3 separate regions of the Homo sapiens genome follow, and all the other regions are linked to region 1. The links are contacts of gene promoters, found by promoter capture Hi-C in human tissues and cell types (Jung and others, 2019). All regions are on one chromosome and are shown on one strand. The core of a region is centred on a gene start or on the middle of the fragment in contact, and the rest is flanking DNA. Distances in the headings are between cores, read along the strand shown.

The links. Contacts are between HindIII fragments. The study calls those that stand out against the background at their distance.
Region 2: a fragment that was not itself captured here is called in contact with the fragment with the promoter of NIPAL2 in region 1 in 3 of the 25 tissues and cell types used here (IMR-90 fibroblasts, adrenal gland and lymphoblastoid cells).
Region 3: a contact is called between a fragment that was not itself captured here and the fragment with the promoter of NIPAL2 in region 1, in 4 of the 25 tissues and cell types used here (IMR-90 fibroblasts, heart left ventricle, lymphoblastoid cells and 1 more).

What each region holds. Positions count from the first base shown.
Region 1 is chr8:98,292,985-98,297,235 of GRCh38, reverse strand. It overlaps NIPAL2 (NIPA like domain containing 2), which reads left to right and starts at 3,001. Exons shown (of 11, transcript NM_001321635.2): 1 at 3,001-3,233. The coding sequence starts at 3,099. All of the region lies in intron 5 of LOC105375659 (a long non-coding RNA gene), which reads right to left. RefSeq lists a silencer at 2,762-3,481. The HindIII fragment of the contact is 9,267 bases long and covers 1-4,251 here.
Region 2 is chr8:98,397,718-98,402,785 of GRCh38, reverse strand. It overlaps a transcript of STK3 not described here. Among named protein-coding and RNA genes, the nearest start is that of MIR9903, 6.5 kb to the right of the region's middle. The HindIII fragment of the contact is 6,459 bases long and covers 1-5,068 here.
Region 3 is chr8:98,357,101-98,362,168 of GRCh38, reverse strand. It overlaps a transcript of STK3 not described here. Among named protein-coding and RNA genes, the nearest start is that of MIR9903, 34 kb to the left of the region's middle. RefSeq lists a silencer at 2,994-3,288. The HindIII fragment of the contact is 4,979 bases long and covers 1-4,549 here.

The DNA.
Region 1 (4,251 bases), core at 1,752-4,251:
CACGAATTCTTCGTTTCAACCACCCACACACACTAGGACAGCAGCAACAGCAGTGACATCTTGGAATCTAGAGAACACCACGTGGTAGGCTGTACATCAAATCTTCTCTGCATCATGTACCATCTTCCTCCAAAATTAGAGGTTTTAAACAAATGTAAAGAAATTGAAAATGTTTTTTTAAATTAAGAAATAAAATGGGAACAAGTTGAGTATAGCAGAGTATCAACTAAAGGGAAAAAAATCAAGCTTTTAAAGAATTAAACTTAGTTTTATTCAGAAGTCTCACTGAATTGTTTGAGGCCAGGAGTTCTAGACCAGCCTGGGAAACATAATGAGACCCCATCTCTACAAAAAATTAAAAAAAAAAAAAAATTGTCTGGGCGTGGTGACTCACGCCTGTAATCCCAGCACTTTGGGAGGCTGAGGTGGGTGGATCATGAGGTCAGGAGATCGAGACCATCCTGGCTAACACGATGAAACCCAGACTCTACTAAAAATACAAAAAATTAGCTGGGCGTGGTGGCGGGCATCTGTAGTCCCAGCTACTCAGGAGGCTGAGGCAGGAGAATGGCGTGAACTCGGGAGGCGGAGCTTGCAGTGAGCCGAGATTGTGCCACTGCACTCCAGCCTGGGTGACAGAGCAAGACTCTGTCTCAAAAAAAAAAAAAGTGTGGACTTCATTATGGCAATAGGGAGGCTTCAAGGCATTTTAAACCAGAAAGTAACACAATCCATTTAGTATTTTGCTTGTTAGCAACTGTACAACTACTTACAATCTGGCTGATAGAAAAATACTAGAGTGGTTGTACCAGGGTTGACTGGTTCCCCTCCCCCATAACCCCATGGCATTCCCACTCATCCTGGTTGGTAGAGCTTACCTCTCACTAGGTTGGAAATACCCAAGAATCACTTTCCCAGCCTCCCTTGCTGGTAGAACATGGGCATGTGACCCAGTCCCAGCCAATGGGATCTGAGGTGAAAGGATGCCAGGAGGATTCTGGAAAAGGCTTTCCTCCCTCAATGGACAAGACCAGTACCTCAGGGATAGCAGAGCAGAAAGGTGGAAGTGACGACATAATAGAACCACATAGAGACACATTCCTCTGGAGATAGCAGATAATTATTGTTTAAGCCACTTTTATTTGGATACTCTGTTACTTGCACCCTAAAGCATGTGAAGAGAAAGAAGCATTAATGAAGTCACCAATATCAATGAATGTGATGTTATAGAAAACTTATCAGACAAGGCATGGCAGCTCACACCTGTAATCCCACCACTTTGGGAGGCCGAGGTGGGACAACTGTTTGAGGCCAGGAGTTCTAGACCAGCCTAGGAAAAATTGCGAGACCCTGTCCCTACAAAAAAATAGAAAAATATTAGCCAGGGCCAGGTGTGGTGGCTCACACCTGTAATCCCAGCACTTTGGGAGGCCAAGACAGGGGGATCACTGGAGGTTAGGAGCTTGAGGCCAGCCTGACCAACACCGTGAAACCCTGTCTCTACTAAAAATACAAAAATTAGCCGGGCTTGGTGGTGTGCACGTGTAGTCCCAGCTACTCAGGAGGCTGAGGCAGGAGCATTGTTTGAACCCAGGAGGCAGAGGTTGCAGTGAGCTGAGATTGTGCCACTGCACTGCAGCCTGGGCAAGAGAGAGAGACTCTATCTAAAAAAAAAAAAAATTAGCTGGGCATGGTGGCATGCACCTGTATGTAGTCCCAGGTGGGAGGATCACTTGGGCCCAGGAATATGAGGCTAAAGTGAGTCAAGATCACACCACTGCACTCCAGCCTGGGCAACAGAGCAAGACCCTGTCTCAAAAAATAAAATAAAATGTAATATAACAAATAGAGACCTTTTTCCTTCAGATATTTATTTGAAGTAAATCAGCCTCTTAAAATTGGGAATAGTTACCTACAATTGTTAGCTGTTCACTGAACATCTCGAGTGCTTAAGCAAGAAACTACACAATTTCTGAGACGACATGTCTTGTTTTTTCTGTATGTGAAATGACTTTTTCTCACTCTTTTCTCTCATTTGCACATTTCCCCTAAGAAACACTGAAAACTGTCCCTGCTCCCTTCTAGGCAGCAATTCTCTTTTCTTGAAGGTCTCTCTTTCATGAACTCATGGAAGTCAAAGCACATTATCTAAGAAAAACCTCAGCATTGTGTAAACAAAAGAAGGCAACTATCAGCCTTCAGGCAACAGTATAGAATCATGGTTTTTTTAAAGTGAGAAATACCCTACAGATCATTTGTGGTCACACATTAGAATTTGAATACAGGTAAAACCAGAACATCTCGTTAGAGTTCTTAAGATTAATAACAACATTTATCTTTCATCCTAAATTCATATATACAGTAGCTGGCAACTTTTCAGCAACTCCACCTGATCCCATCTGAAGCAAACCCAATCCAGTCATCGCACACTGGGGTCCTATGGCTACCACATTCCTCATTCAAGGAATATTTACTAAGGATCTATCAAGCACTGGCACTGAGATTCAATCGCTCGGATCTTTTTTTCTCATATTGCTTACAATATTTCTGGGAACTCATGACTTTTTCATATGCAATCAATTTTTAAAATATCGGTGAGAAACACTACATATGTGATAGAGGACTGGAATTGCCAGGTAGAGATGGGAGATGATAGCTGCTTTGGGTTAGTCAGTGTCTCCTCCTCTTCCATTGACTTGGACAAATGTTTACAACGGAGATGATCTGATTCTGGCCCCGACAGGCGCGGGGACCCGTTGCGGACGGCCGCGGGGATTGCCCCCTTGGGCAGTGCGGCCCCGAGGATGCAGACACTGGCCCAGCGGAAGGAGGGCGCGGTGCGAGCTGGACGGCCCCGGGAGGCCGCAGACCGCCGGGCTCCCCGAGGACACCTCGCACCGGAGGAGGAGAGGAGGCAGCGCCCGGCCAGGCTGGGAGCACCTACGGCCGCGCGGGGGCGGGAGCCAGGTGGCCTCGGCGCGCCCGCCTCGCCCGGGCACCGAGCAGGAAGTGGCTGCGGCGCGGCCTCCTCGCGGTGCAACAGGGCGGGGAGGCGGCCGCAGCCCGAGCCGGAGCCCGAGCGCCGGGAGCGAGACCTCATGGCAGCGGTGGCGCCCGCGGGCCCCGGGGACTCCGCCTCGGCCGCCCTGGACGAGCTGTCACTGAATTTCACGTACGGGGCACCAGGCGCCGGCAACGGCTCCCTCTCGGGCGACTGGTACCGCAGGAACCAGGTAAGGGCCGCCCCGCAGCCACCGCAGCCCGGTGGGGACGCGGCCAGGGCGGCTGGCTCCGGGCGCCTCTGCGCCTCGGCCGCTTTCCTGCCAGCTCTCAGGAAGACACCCGGCCTCTCCGAGTGGGAAGAGGTGACATGCAATGTTTCCCGCATTGACCTAAGTCCGCCTCATCCGGAAGCGCGGGGGTCCGCCCAGTCTTCCTCTCCCGGGCACCCGGCACTGGGAGTGGGCGCCCAGGTCTTCGGCCTTGACCTCAGCCACCCGTTCCTGGGACCTCCGGGTCCCGATCCCGCCTCCCCAGCCTGCGTCCGCCCTCTTCTCCCGGAAGGAATCTAGGAGTGTGGGGGCAATTCACTCATTTTCACCCCAGGATCCTTTTACAGTTAAAAGAAAAGAAAAAAGTGACACCCTGTTATCAGAAGCAGAAAACTCATTAAGGGCAGCCTAATGTCACCTCGCGCAGATGCCCTGCGTGTGTCCCTGGTATCTCAACACAGCTCTTCCATTTCCGTGCGAGGAACACATTTTCTCAGGTTGCATTTGCAGGACTCTCATTCTTTCCCACCGGCCCTTTGGGAAAACTTTGTTAACTTAAACAACGCCAGTTTACACTGGAAATATACATTTAACAAAATCAAAGGGACTTGGAGCCGCCCATTTATTTTTGGCTTGGTTTAAGATGAGGAAGTGTTCTGGCCAGCCCTTCCTCTAGCAGCGTTCATATTGCAACTAAGTTTTATCACGGTGGATTCCAGGCTTCCTCCTGTTTTCATTAAATGTGTTACTTTGTTCTTGTTCTTTAACAAAACCATGGATACTTTTATTTTTGCAACAATATAATCAGAAAATATTTGTTGCTGTTGTCCTAAATCGGAGAGTTTAACCAATTATCAAAGATCTGGATTCCTTTTATGCCTGAAGTGTTCTAAATATTAATTTCTGAATGCAGAAGAGAATATATTTGTATAAAGAATAAGTAAGATAAATAAGCATGTTCACTTTATTAGTTTTCAAG
Region 2 (5,068 bases), core at 1,063-3,562, 110 kb before region 1:
GAAGGGCAAGTACCACCTGGCAGAGTCTCTTCTAGGGCTGAGGGAACAAGCACAGACTGTTCCCAAGGCATGTCCTCCTCGCCTGGCTGGCCCTGCACAGATGAGGCCCTCAGGAGTTGGGACAAACACTCCCTGGGAGGAGGAGGCAGATGATTCAGGCTGAACTCATGGGAGACCACCCCAGACTCCCAGGACAGCAGGGCCCCCTCCGTCCCGGAGGGGACACGGAGGCAGAGGAGAGCACCTATCTGGCTTTGCTCTGCTGTACTGGGGACACAGAACCCTCCCTGTTTCTCCTGTGGGGCCCAGACTTTCGCTTCCTTTCAGAAACTCAGCCTCACCAGGAATGAGCCAAACACAGACTCCAGGGAGCTCCGATCCCTTGGACTCTCTGAAAGAGGACACAGGAATGTGTTAGGATGCTAGATCTGGCTCAAGATATGCAGGCCAGGATAGTCTCTCCACAGTGGTATGCAGATCTTGGGGAAAGATTCTGCTATGGCTGAATGGGTTAGTGGCAAGTGCACCGGCCTTATGGCTGGGTGGGTCTGGGTTCAGGTCCCTGCTCTGACTCTCCCTAAGATCCCTTAGGAAAAAGAAGATAATGATGTGATGAGGATGCTACCTTTATATAATTGCTAAGTACTTAGTAAGTGCTAAATAAATGGTAAAGCTATTATTAATACCAATTATACCTGGGGAAGTATAGAACAGCAAGGATAGTATAATCTTATGTATATAAAATTGTATATAGATAGGATGTTTACCAAACATTAATAGTGGTTATCACCGTGTAGTGGGATTTGGGGGTAATTTTTACTTTCTTCTTTTATTTTTCTGGGTGTTCCTTGAATTTTTTTTACAATGCATGCGCACAAGAATAATTGCTCGTCTGTAACCTCAATTAGCTCCAGTAAAGGCTGGATTCTTGATATGCTTAAGTTTGGAAGTTTGGGATTAGGCACTTGAGGGAACCTGAATTACTCTTCATAGCAGGGAGAGAAGAATGTGGGTTCCCAGAGCAACCTGAGAGGAGATGAGACTGGGAAGAGGTAGGGGAGAAAAGGGAGCAAGTTGACAAAATCCCATGTGGTCGGCAACATAATCTTAAATCTCCCACGTGGTCTACTACCCACTCAGATGCTTGGTGTGAGTGATTGTTGTTGTGGGATATGAAATTGGAGCCACATTTCACATGTTGTGTGGGGTCAGACAGAGGCAGCATCTGAACACATACAACCCACAAATGAACAATCCATTCTGTTTTTCCAGGAATCAGCAGAAGCCTTGGAAAGCCTTGTGAGTTCCACAGGACACAGAATTGCTTGAGCTTGAGCCAAATTGTCTCTGTTATCCATTGCTACATTAAAAAAACACTTCAAACTTATTGGCATCAAACAACAATAATCATTTATTATATCTTTCCAGGTTCTGGGGGTTGGCTGGGCTCCGCTGGGTGGCTCTTGCATGGGGTCTCTCCTGCAGTTGCAGCTGGAGTCCCAGCAAAGCCTTCCCCATCCACATGTCTGGTGTCTGGGCTGGAAAGCCTCAGGCAGCTGGAGCTGGAGCACCTGGGGCTTCTTGCGATTTCTCTCCATCTCTATGTGGTCTCTGCATGGTGCTGGCAGCCGGGCATCTTCAGGGGGCTGGACTTCTTACGTGGCTGTCCATGGCTCCTAAGGCATGTGTCCCGAGAGAGAGAGCCAGGTGGAAGCTGTGTGGCCTTCCTAACTTGCTTTTTGGAAGTTGCACAGTCAATTATATGCACTCCATCAGTTGGAGCAGTCAAAAGGCCCACCCAGATTCAAGGAGAGATGACACAGCCGCCATCTCTCGATGGAGGAATTGCAAAGTTCTGGAATGAACATATGGGATTGAAAATAATGTTGTGGCCTTATTTGGAAAATACAGTCTGCCACAGGACATTTCACAGATGTTGAGGGGCAGGGCAGTCCCCAGCTGATATCTGAGTTACAATCAGGAAAAAACAACAAAACTATTTTTTTTTTAAAAAAGACAAAATATTAACTGAAATAGACTTCAAATCAAATCTAAGATTATTTAGAAGAACATGGATGAAGAATAGGGACTTTTATTGTAGCAGATTTACTGGAATTGGCTGTGAAAATCATCATGAAAGTGAACAAGCCAGAAAGAAAAATGTTACTCTTTTGTTCAAAACTTTCTGGATGGAGCCAGCAGTGCTGGAAATGGAACAGGAGAAGCCTGGAAGAGGGCCCGAGGGTCAGAAGGGTCAGACCTTGGCTGTTGGCAGGGAAGGCAGGGATCTGCGTGAGAGAGATTGCTGAGCTGAGACGTTCAGGACAGAGCCCGGGATGGGTGCAGGGAGGGACAAACCTCAGTACGGCAGGCGCCTGCTGTGTCTACATGTCACCTGCCTTTGCTACATGTGTGTTCCCTCGTGGTGACACCTGGGGGCACAGCCTTGGGGCCTGGGAATCTGTTGCCTTGCTCTGGGCTTCAATAAATGAGTCCAGGGCTCACGGGCTTGCTCTTCCTTTCATTATGGAATCCCTGGACTTGGACTTCAGTAACCATCTCCTGCAAACGATGGCCCTTCACTTCAAGGAACTGGCTCCCCCTCTGGGGGCTCTGGCTTGTCACTGACTCTGACTCTGCATTCTTGCATCTCTACAGTCAGACCTGGAATCCCTGAGCATGGGTCTGGAGGGAGCCTGAGTGTCATTTGGGTTGGAAAGCAGCTCTTGCTCACCACCGGGATCTGATGCGTGGGTAGCAGCTTCTATCAAGAAGGATCATGAGGTTGCATTTGGGATCAGAGGGGAAAAGGGCCTCGATCAATGGGCAGTGGAAGGTGGAGTGGTGATACAAGTTTGCAAACACTTCTGAACTCTGTTTTATTTCTGGGCAGCAATAGAGGGTGACCCTCCCGAAGCACGTGGTCATCTCTCCTTTCCTCCCAGATCTCAGGGCTGGCATTCCATGGCCTCCTGTAAGCCACACCCCATTCTCTACTGCTCTCAGTTGGTGACATAGTGGCCAGTTCTTGCTCTGGCTTCCTTTTGGAGATGGAGGGCAGTAGATCGGCAATTCATTCTCTTTAGGTGAATTATCTTTAGATGAATCACCCCTTTGATCTTCTTGAAAAGACCTCAGAGATCGTCTAATTTTACCTCTTATTTTGCAAATAAGGAAACTGAGGCTAAGAGAGATAGAAAAGCTTTGTTTGCCAGTCTTCCCTTCAGCATCTCAACAAGACTTTGCCAAGGGGCCCGCTTGGGGCATGGCACAAAACCCCCTTCCCACTGTCAATATCTCCCCTCCAGTCTCCTTCCCTGCCGTGGCCAGGCCACGTGGAAACTCATGCCAAAGAGCGTCAACCGGGAATGTGTCTTCTTTCTTGAAATACGTTATGGATCAGCAGGCAGCCCCCTCAAGACCCCAGCAATGAAGCTCGCTTGTAGCCCGGCACACAGTAACCCAGAAACATATGTGGTGAGCAATAACAGTCATAAATTTTATGAGATTATGTGTTCCTAATGTGAGATTTCAGGCTGATCTGTTTGTTGAGTTATGCCAAACTTCAGCATGATTCAATCAAGTTTTGCTTAATCTTCCCTTATTTACTCTGGGTGGGGGTGAGTCACGGAGTATGTCTCTAGTCCAGTCTGCTGAACTAATTTACCCCAAGGATTTTGATGGACTGGTGATTTGTTCTCTTTGAATATTCAGTTTATTTGCTTATAGCATTAGACGAGGTCTGGATTACATGCAGTGAACGTCTGTAGCCATGCTGGGGACCAGGACCTCTTTGGAGAGTCCACACTAGGGACAGAGAGCACCTTGAAGATTTCACAGTTTCCTTTCAGTCAAGGCCAAATCATGCAAAATATTTTGTTACCTGTTGATGAACTCACGGGATTTAACGCTGTGGCCTCTTTATCACAGAGAAAGGCGTTTTGGCCAGCTCCCTGCATCTCTGACCCTAGGCGGTGTGGATCTGGAAGAAACAGGGAATATTACCATCTTCTCCAAAGATGTAAAAGCCTGGAAAATTTGCCCGAGGCTGGGAGTGACTCCAGCTGCCAAGCATCTCCATCTCCCAGTGTCCAATTTTTGGCAGCCTCGGGGGAGATGGGAGCATGCAGATGGAATGTGAGGTCTGTGTCCTCAATGCCTCATCTCAGTGCACTGAGGAGATGTCAAGTCCCCTAGGACTAAGAGCGGCGAGGCACAGCCTGTAGTCTGATGGTGAGGGTTTGGGATCTCCTGGCTTCCATGGGATGGGAGAATTGGGGGTTTTGGCCTTCCATATTTAAGGCTAGGGTGGAAAGGGTTTTCCTTGATTTCATCTTTGATCATGATGCCCACTGTTCCAGTTTGCTCGGGACTGAGGGGTTCCCAGGATGTGGGGCTTTCACAGCGAAAAAGGGGAAAGTTGTGGGAAACTAGGAGAAGTTGGTCACCATAATTTTGATGTTCCTTAACTTTGGTAAGTCATGCCCTAAGATGCATCCAAAGCTTTGGGTAGGAATGGGAGGGTCACTCTTTCCTTCCCAAGTAGCTGCTGCATGGCCTCGGGTCTGGAAACAAAGATTCCCCATCCACCCCAACCACTGTAAGAGTGAAAGTTTTCCTGCTCAGTTTCCCAGACACGTGATGCCCTTCGCTCTCTGCTGAGGGGTGGCAGCAGGTTTTCCTGCCAATGTGGGGCATTGACATGCTCTTAGCCCACACTAAGAGATAGGGAAGCCCACAGCTTGCTTGGTAGGCTATATTAGTCCATTCTCACACAGCTATAAAGAACTACATGAGACTGGGTTATTTATGAAGAAAAGAGGTTTAATTGACTCACAGTTCCACAGGCTGTGCAGGAAGAATGGTTAGGAGGCCTCAGGAAACTTTCAATCATGGTAGAAGGTGGAGGGGAAGGTGGCACGTCTTACCATGGTGGAGCAGGAGAGACAGAGAACAAGCGGGCAACTGCCACACACTTTTAAACCATCAGATCTTGTGAGAGCTCACTCACTATCATGAGAACAGCATGGGAGAAACCGCTTCCATGATCCAATCATCTTCCTCCAGG
Region 3 (5,068 bases), core at 811-3,310, 66 kb before region 1:
TAACTTCCGCTCTTCCACCCTCCTTTGCTCTCTTCTAGGTAGACTTCTTTGTTGGTTAACCGACCTTCCTTCTGGGAGGAAGGAACACTTTTGCACAATCCTCCCCAGAGGGACATTTGCCACCTGGAATCCAACCAAATGGAGTCTGCCAGGAGCTTGTGCAGCATCTGCAAAGCCAGTTCCAGTTGACAGAGGATTCAGGCTGGCAGTGAGGACTCAGCTGAGATCACCAAACCCTTGGGACTGGCTTGAGTTCAAAATGCTAGGTGCCCTGAGCCAAGAAGCTACAGAACCCCCTTGTGGCTCCCTTGTTCTGAAGCCACAAGGCCACATGTTGAAGGCCTGTCCCTGCAGCTCTCTCCAACCTCATCAGACCAGCAAAACCACCTTGTTCCTAGGTCCTTTCTAGAAGCTGGTGTGCCTGGGGTGAAAACATCCAGTGTCCCAATGAAATATATGCCATTTATACAAGGTACGCTGCTTTGTCGTTGTTAACACAGAGAGGGGACTGGAGGCAGGCATTTTGAACTCATGACTTCAAGGCAACCCAAACAGATGTTAAAGCCTGACCATCCTTTTTGTTAAGATCATAAATATAGCTCAATTTATTGTAATGCTCAGAGGTGTCAGGCACTATTCTGAGTACTTCATTAACCCTCTCAACAACCATGAAATTATTATTACCTGCATGCCACAGATGAGGAAACTGAGGCACAGAGAGGTTAAATAACCCACAGGTTTACAAAACTATCAAGTGCCAGAACAAACTACAAACCATCAGCCCAGCACCAGAGCCTATGCCCTTAACCACACCATAATATATATATATGGGGGTCATGCCTTGTTTTAAAAAGAAGCACTGCATTTTTTTTTCTGCAGCTACCACCTCTGGCACCGTGGGCAGGAGGCAAGGCCTGGTCTGCAGAGTGTGTGGGCCTTAAACTCCCAGCATGAAGCTCTTCAGCCTCCAAGGGCGCTGGCCACTTCTGAGCACTCATTAAAGTCAGGTGTAAGTTCTCTCTTGTCCAGTCTGGTTGGGAAGGGGGGTACTCAGTGTAATCTAATACCTTAGTTTATACATTCTGCAGGGTTTTGGGTCTACAGGAGTGTGAAAATAGCAGATTATCAGACTGACAAAATCCAATTTTGACCTTGTGATTTTGTGTCCTGTGGAGCTTGGGTGCTATAGATGTGGAAGGTTGAAGAGAGTGAACTGAACGTTTAGGGACACTCTGACACCCCTGGAAAATGTTTTTGCAATCCATGATCTTTATTTGTTTATGGATCATTTTGCATAGAAGTAGCTGAGAGCGTGTAATCACATAGCCTCAGCCCAACTGGCCTGTTAACAAAGCTATCTAATCACTGGCATGCCAAGAGAGCCACTAGCCTTGACTACTTTACTTTGACATTTAGTTAAACAGAGATGATGCCCTTATGTCTTCCAAAATGGCTGCATCGTAAAATATTAAAGTAATGAAAGTGTCTGTGAGTGAGAGCTCTCAAGGAAGGAGGAATATTCCTTGCAAGTACAAACAACGGCCAAATGTATCTGACAATGAATGCATCATTTACAGGCCAGCTTGTGGCATCATTAAAAATAGATCTTACTGTTTGTTGGGGGCTTGGGGAAATTAATGAAAAAAAAAAAAAGAAAGAAATTGGCTCAAAAAGACATGGTTGTCTTCGTAGCCTTGGAGAAAGGAATATGATCATTCAGGAAATATTACTGAGCTCCCACAGTATGACAGGCACTGGACTAGGCATGGAGACACAGAGGGAAGAAGGTCCCACCTTTGTGGAGCGCAAGTTTACAGGGTGGATGGGATGGGCAGGTCTGCAGGGAGTTACACACAGTGTGCAAATGGTGCAAGAGAGATAAGCACAGGGCAACGTGGGAGAGAGATACCAGGTGTCCCTCCCAGTTTTGGGGAGTCAGAATAGGCTTTTCTAATGTAATAATTTCTAATTCAAGATTTGAAGGACAAAATGGGGAGAAAAGGATGAAAGGGGAACCCCCAGGTATTTGCAAAGACCCCGAAGGTAAGTAAAAACCATACAGGGATACAGCAAAGAGGGGACAGAAGAGACCATATGTCCCAGTTTATGGTGGGCCCTCAAAGATGAGAGTCTTGGCAACTTCCAGCCAAGATAAAGAGAAAGGACACAAGGTACATTACAACGTCCCCAGCACTGTTTACCCTTCCCATGCCCCTGAAAACATGGCACATTCAGGGAGCTACAAGGTCCCCAGGACTGTTTACCCTTCCCATGCCACTGGAAACATGGCACATTCAGGGAGCTACAGGGTTTCAGAATGATTAGAGCAGAAAGGGCAAGACCAAGAAGTGGCAAGAGATGAGCCTCTGAGATTTCCCCAGAGATGAGAGTCTGGAGGGCCTCATGACTTATATCAAAGATTTGGGGTATGCGAGCCACTGAAAGATTCTAAGCAGATCAGATTAGAAAGATCCTCCTGGCTGCTCTATGGAGGCTGAATGGGAGAAGGAAGTCAAGATCAGAGGTAGGCAAACCCATTAGGAGACTATTGCAGTGAGGGAGATCACAGTGGCCTGATTCTGGTAGAAAGCATTCAAGAAAACACTCATTTATCCTTTTCTTTCTTTCTTTCTTTTTTTTTTTTTTGAGCCAGAGTCTGGCTCTGTTGCCCAGGTTGGAGTGCAATGGCTTGATCTCAGCTCACTGCAACCTCCGCCTCCCCGGTTCAAGTGATTCTCCCGCCTCAGCCTCCCAAGTAGCTGAGATTACAGGCGCCCACCAGTACACCAGGCTAATTTTTTTTTTTTTTTTTTTTTTTTTTTTTAGTTGAGATGGGTTTCACCATGTTAGTCAGGCTGGTCTCAAACTCTTGACCTCAGGTGATCCGCCCGCCTCGGCCTCCGAAAATGTTGGGATTACAGGCGTGAGCCACCGCGCCCGGCACTCATTTCTCCTTTTCATCACTTCCTCTTGGGTGACTCTGTCTTTTGGAGCTCTCTGAAGTCAAGATATTTGCTTTTGCTATTAATATTCAGCAGGAATAGCGGGATGGTGCCCAGTTCTTGCCCCTGGGAGCTCACATCTCTTCCCTAGAATGTCGTAACTCTGTTCTTCAGCACAGGAAGGAAATACCATTTCCCCAGCTCTTTCTTCGGAAAAGTCACTCTTGATTTGCTTCTGGGAGATGTTTGTCTCTGGACAGGGCTTGGATTCCATGAGCATGTGCGTGTGTGCGCTGCAGTCCAGCTCAGGGGTGGCTCTGCTTTTCTTGGTTTCCTGGATGCCGGCAAAGTTAAAACAGTGACGTTTCCTCTTGATGCTTATCTCCACAACACTTTCTCAAAATGTCTTGCCCATTAACTTTCTAACAGCACCATTTTTGGTGCCAAGCTTCTTGTTTGAAGGCTTGGCGCTTCACTGCAGCAAAAAACAATAGCATTTCTGCCTGTCACTCCCCCCTCATTCCCCTAAACCATGCCTACCTTTCCTCTGAGTCAACACACGAAGCTATGCACTTCTTGAGAAACACCCCTAAGCTTGAGCCTGCCCTGGGTCCCTGGAAGGTGGCTCATGGATCATCACTGTAATGCATTTTAAAAGAAGAGCCGAAAATGCAGGGAACACCATCCCTGGAAATAGATTCCTCAAAGAAGTCACAGGCACTGGGCAAGAACGACTGGAAGCCCTGATAGAACCCTACACATCTCAGAATCCTCCGTGGCTCCCCATTGCCCTCAGGATAAAGCACAAGCCTACTGGGCATCTGTGGTGTCTTTTTTTGGACAGCAGGGTTCAGTTCTGTTCCTCCCTCTTGAAACTGCAGCATGTTTTTATTGGGTAACGGGCGTGTGATTGGACCTGCCATGGCTGCCTGACCCGGGGAAGAGCTCCCCCTGCTGGTGGGAAGTTCTGCTGCACCTTGGCCCCAATTGCCCGTGTACCTCACTTCACGCATTGTGTTCCTGGGGATTTGCACATTAAGCTGAATCAGCTGCTGAGTGTTCTTGGGGTGTGCACTTTTAAAAGGAAATCCGTAGCAAATTCTTGTGTGAGGCGAAAAATCCTTTTTGGAGCAAAACCTGATAGCATCTCTGCCCTTGGAATAATCACTGCCCTTCCCCATCCCCTCGCTTGTTGATGTTCTGAATGTTGGAGTTTATTGAAGGGGGTCTGTTGATGCTGGAGTTCAGGAAGAGGACCCTGGGCATGGGTCCTGGGGAAAGGCCACAGTAGCTGAAGCTGAGCCCCAGATGCTTGTACATCTGACATTTCCATGCTTTGCCGAGGCTCCTTATATCCTGAAGCTTGTCTCTTAAGGGGTGGATGTGTCTCAAAGTCTGATGAGGGGGTGTTGTTCACAGCTTCAAAGGCCCCCCACTGGCAGATTCAGCTGGACCCACTCACACATTTGGAAATGGGTCAACTCCTGTGGGCCTTGGCCAAATTATCAGGAGGAAGCAGAAAGGAGAAGGCAAAGAGAAACACGCCCTCCATTAGAAGGGTATCAACTATGTTACCCAAAGGGGTTGTGCCTATCACAATTAGAGTTGTTTTTCCTCCCTCCAGATGTTGTGTGTTACAGAGTCCTTTATTAGTAAGCACACACATGGCAGCCTCAGCCACATCCAGTGCCAGTGCCAGCCTTACACCTCCAACCATGGTGGCTGCAGTTAAGCATGAGGTACGGTGTGCTATGCACTGAGGTATGAATCCCGTGCTTCTGGGAGTACCATTCTGTGAAAATGAGACTCCCATTAGAGTCTGGACACTTGGCCCAAGAGAATCGGATTAAGCTTCAAGGCTTGATCTCTTTTGAGATTAGAATCCTTGCTGTGAGAACCCACCTTCAAGGCCAGCATCCTGGTTTTACCTGGAGACCCAGGCAGGTAAACCCTGGGTCATTTCCAGACTAGGCTCCTTAGGAGTCAAAGTCTGGAGACCCAATTTGCATCTCTATAGTTGATTGGAGTGCTGGATCCCTGCTAATCCAGTCAGCTAATAAGGCCAGAACCCACTGGACTTGAAAATTATGTTCATGGCATCTTAAGCTCAGGGCATGAAGGAAAAC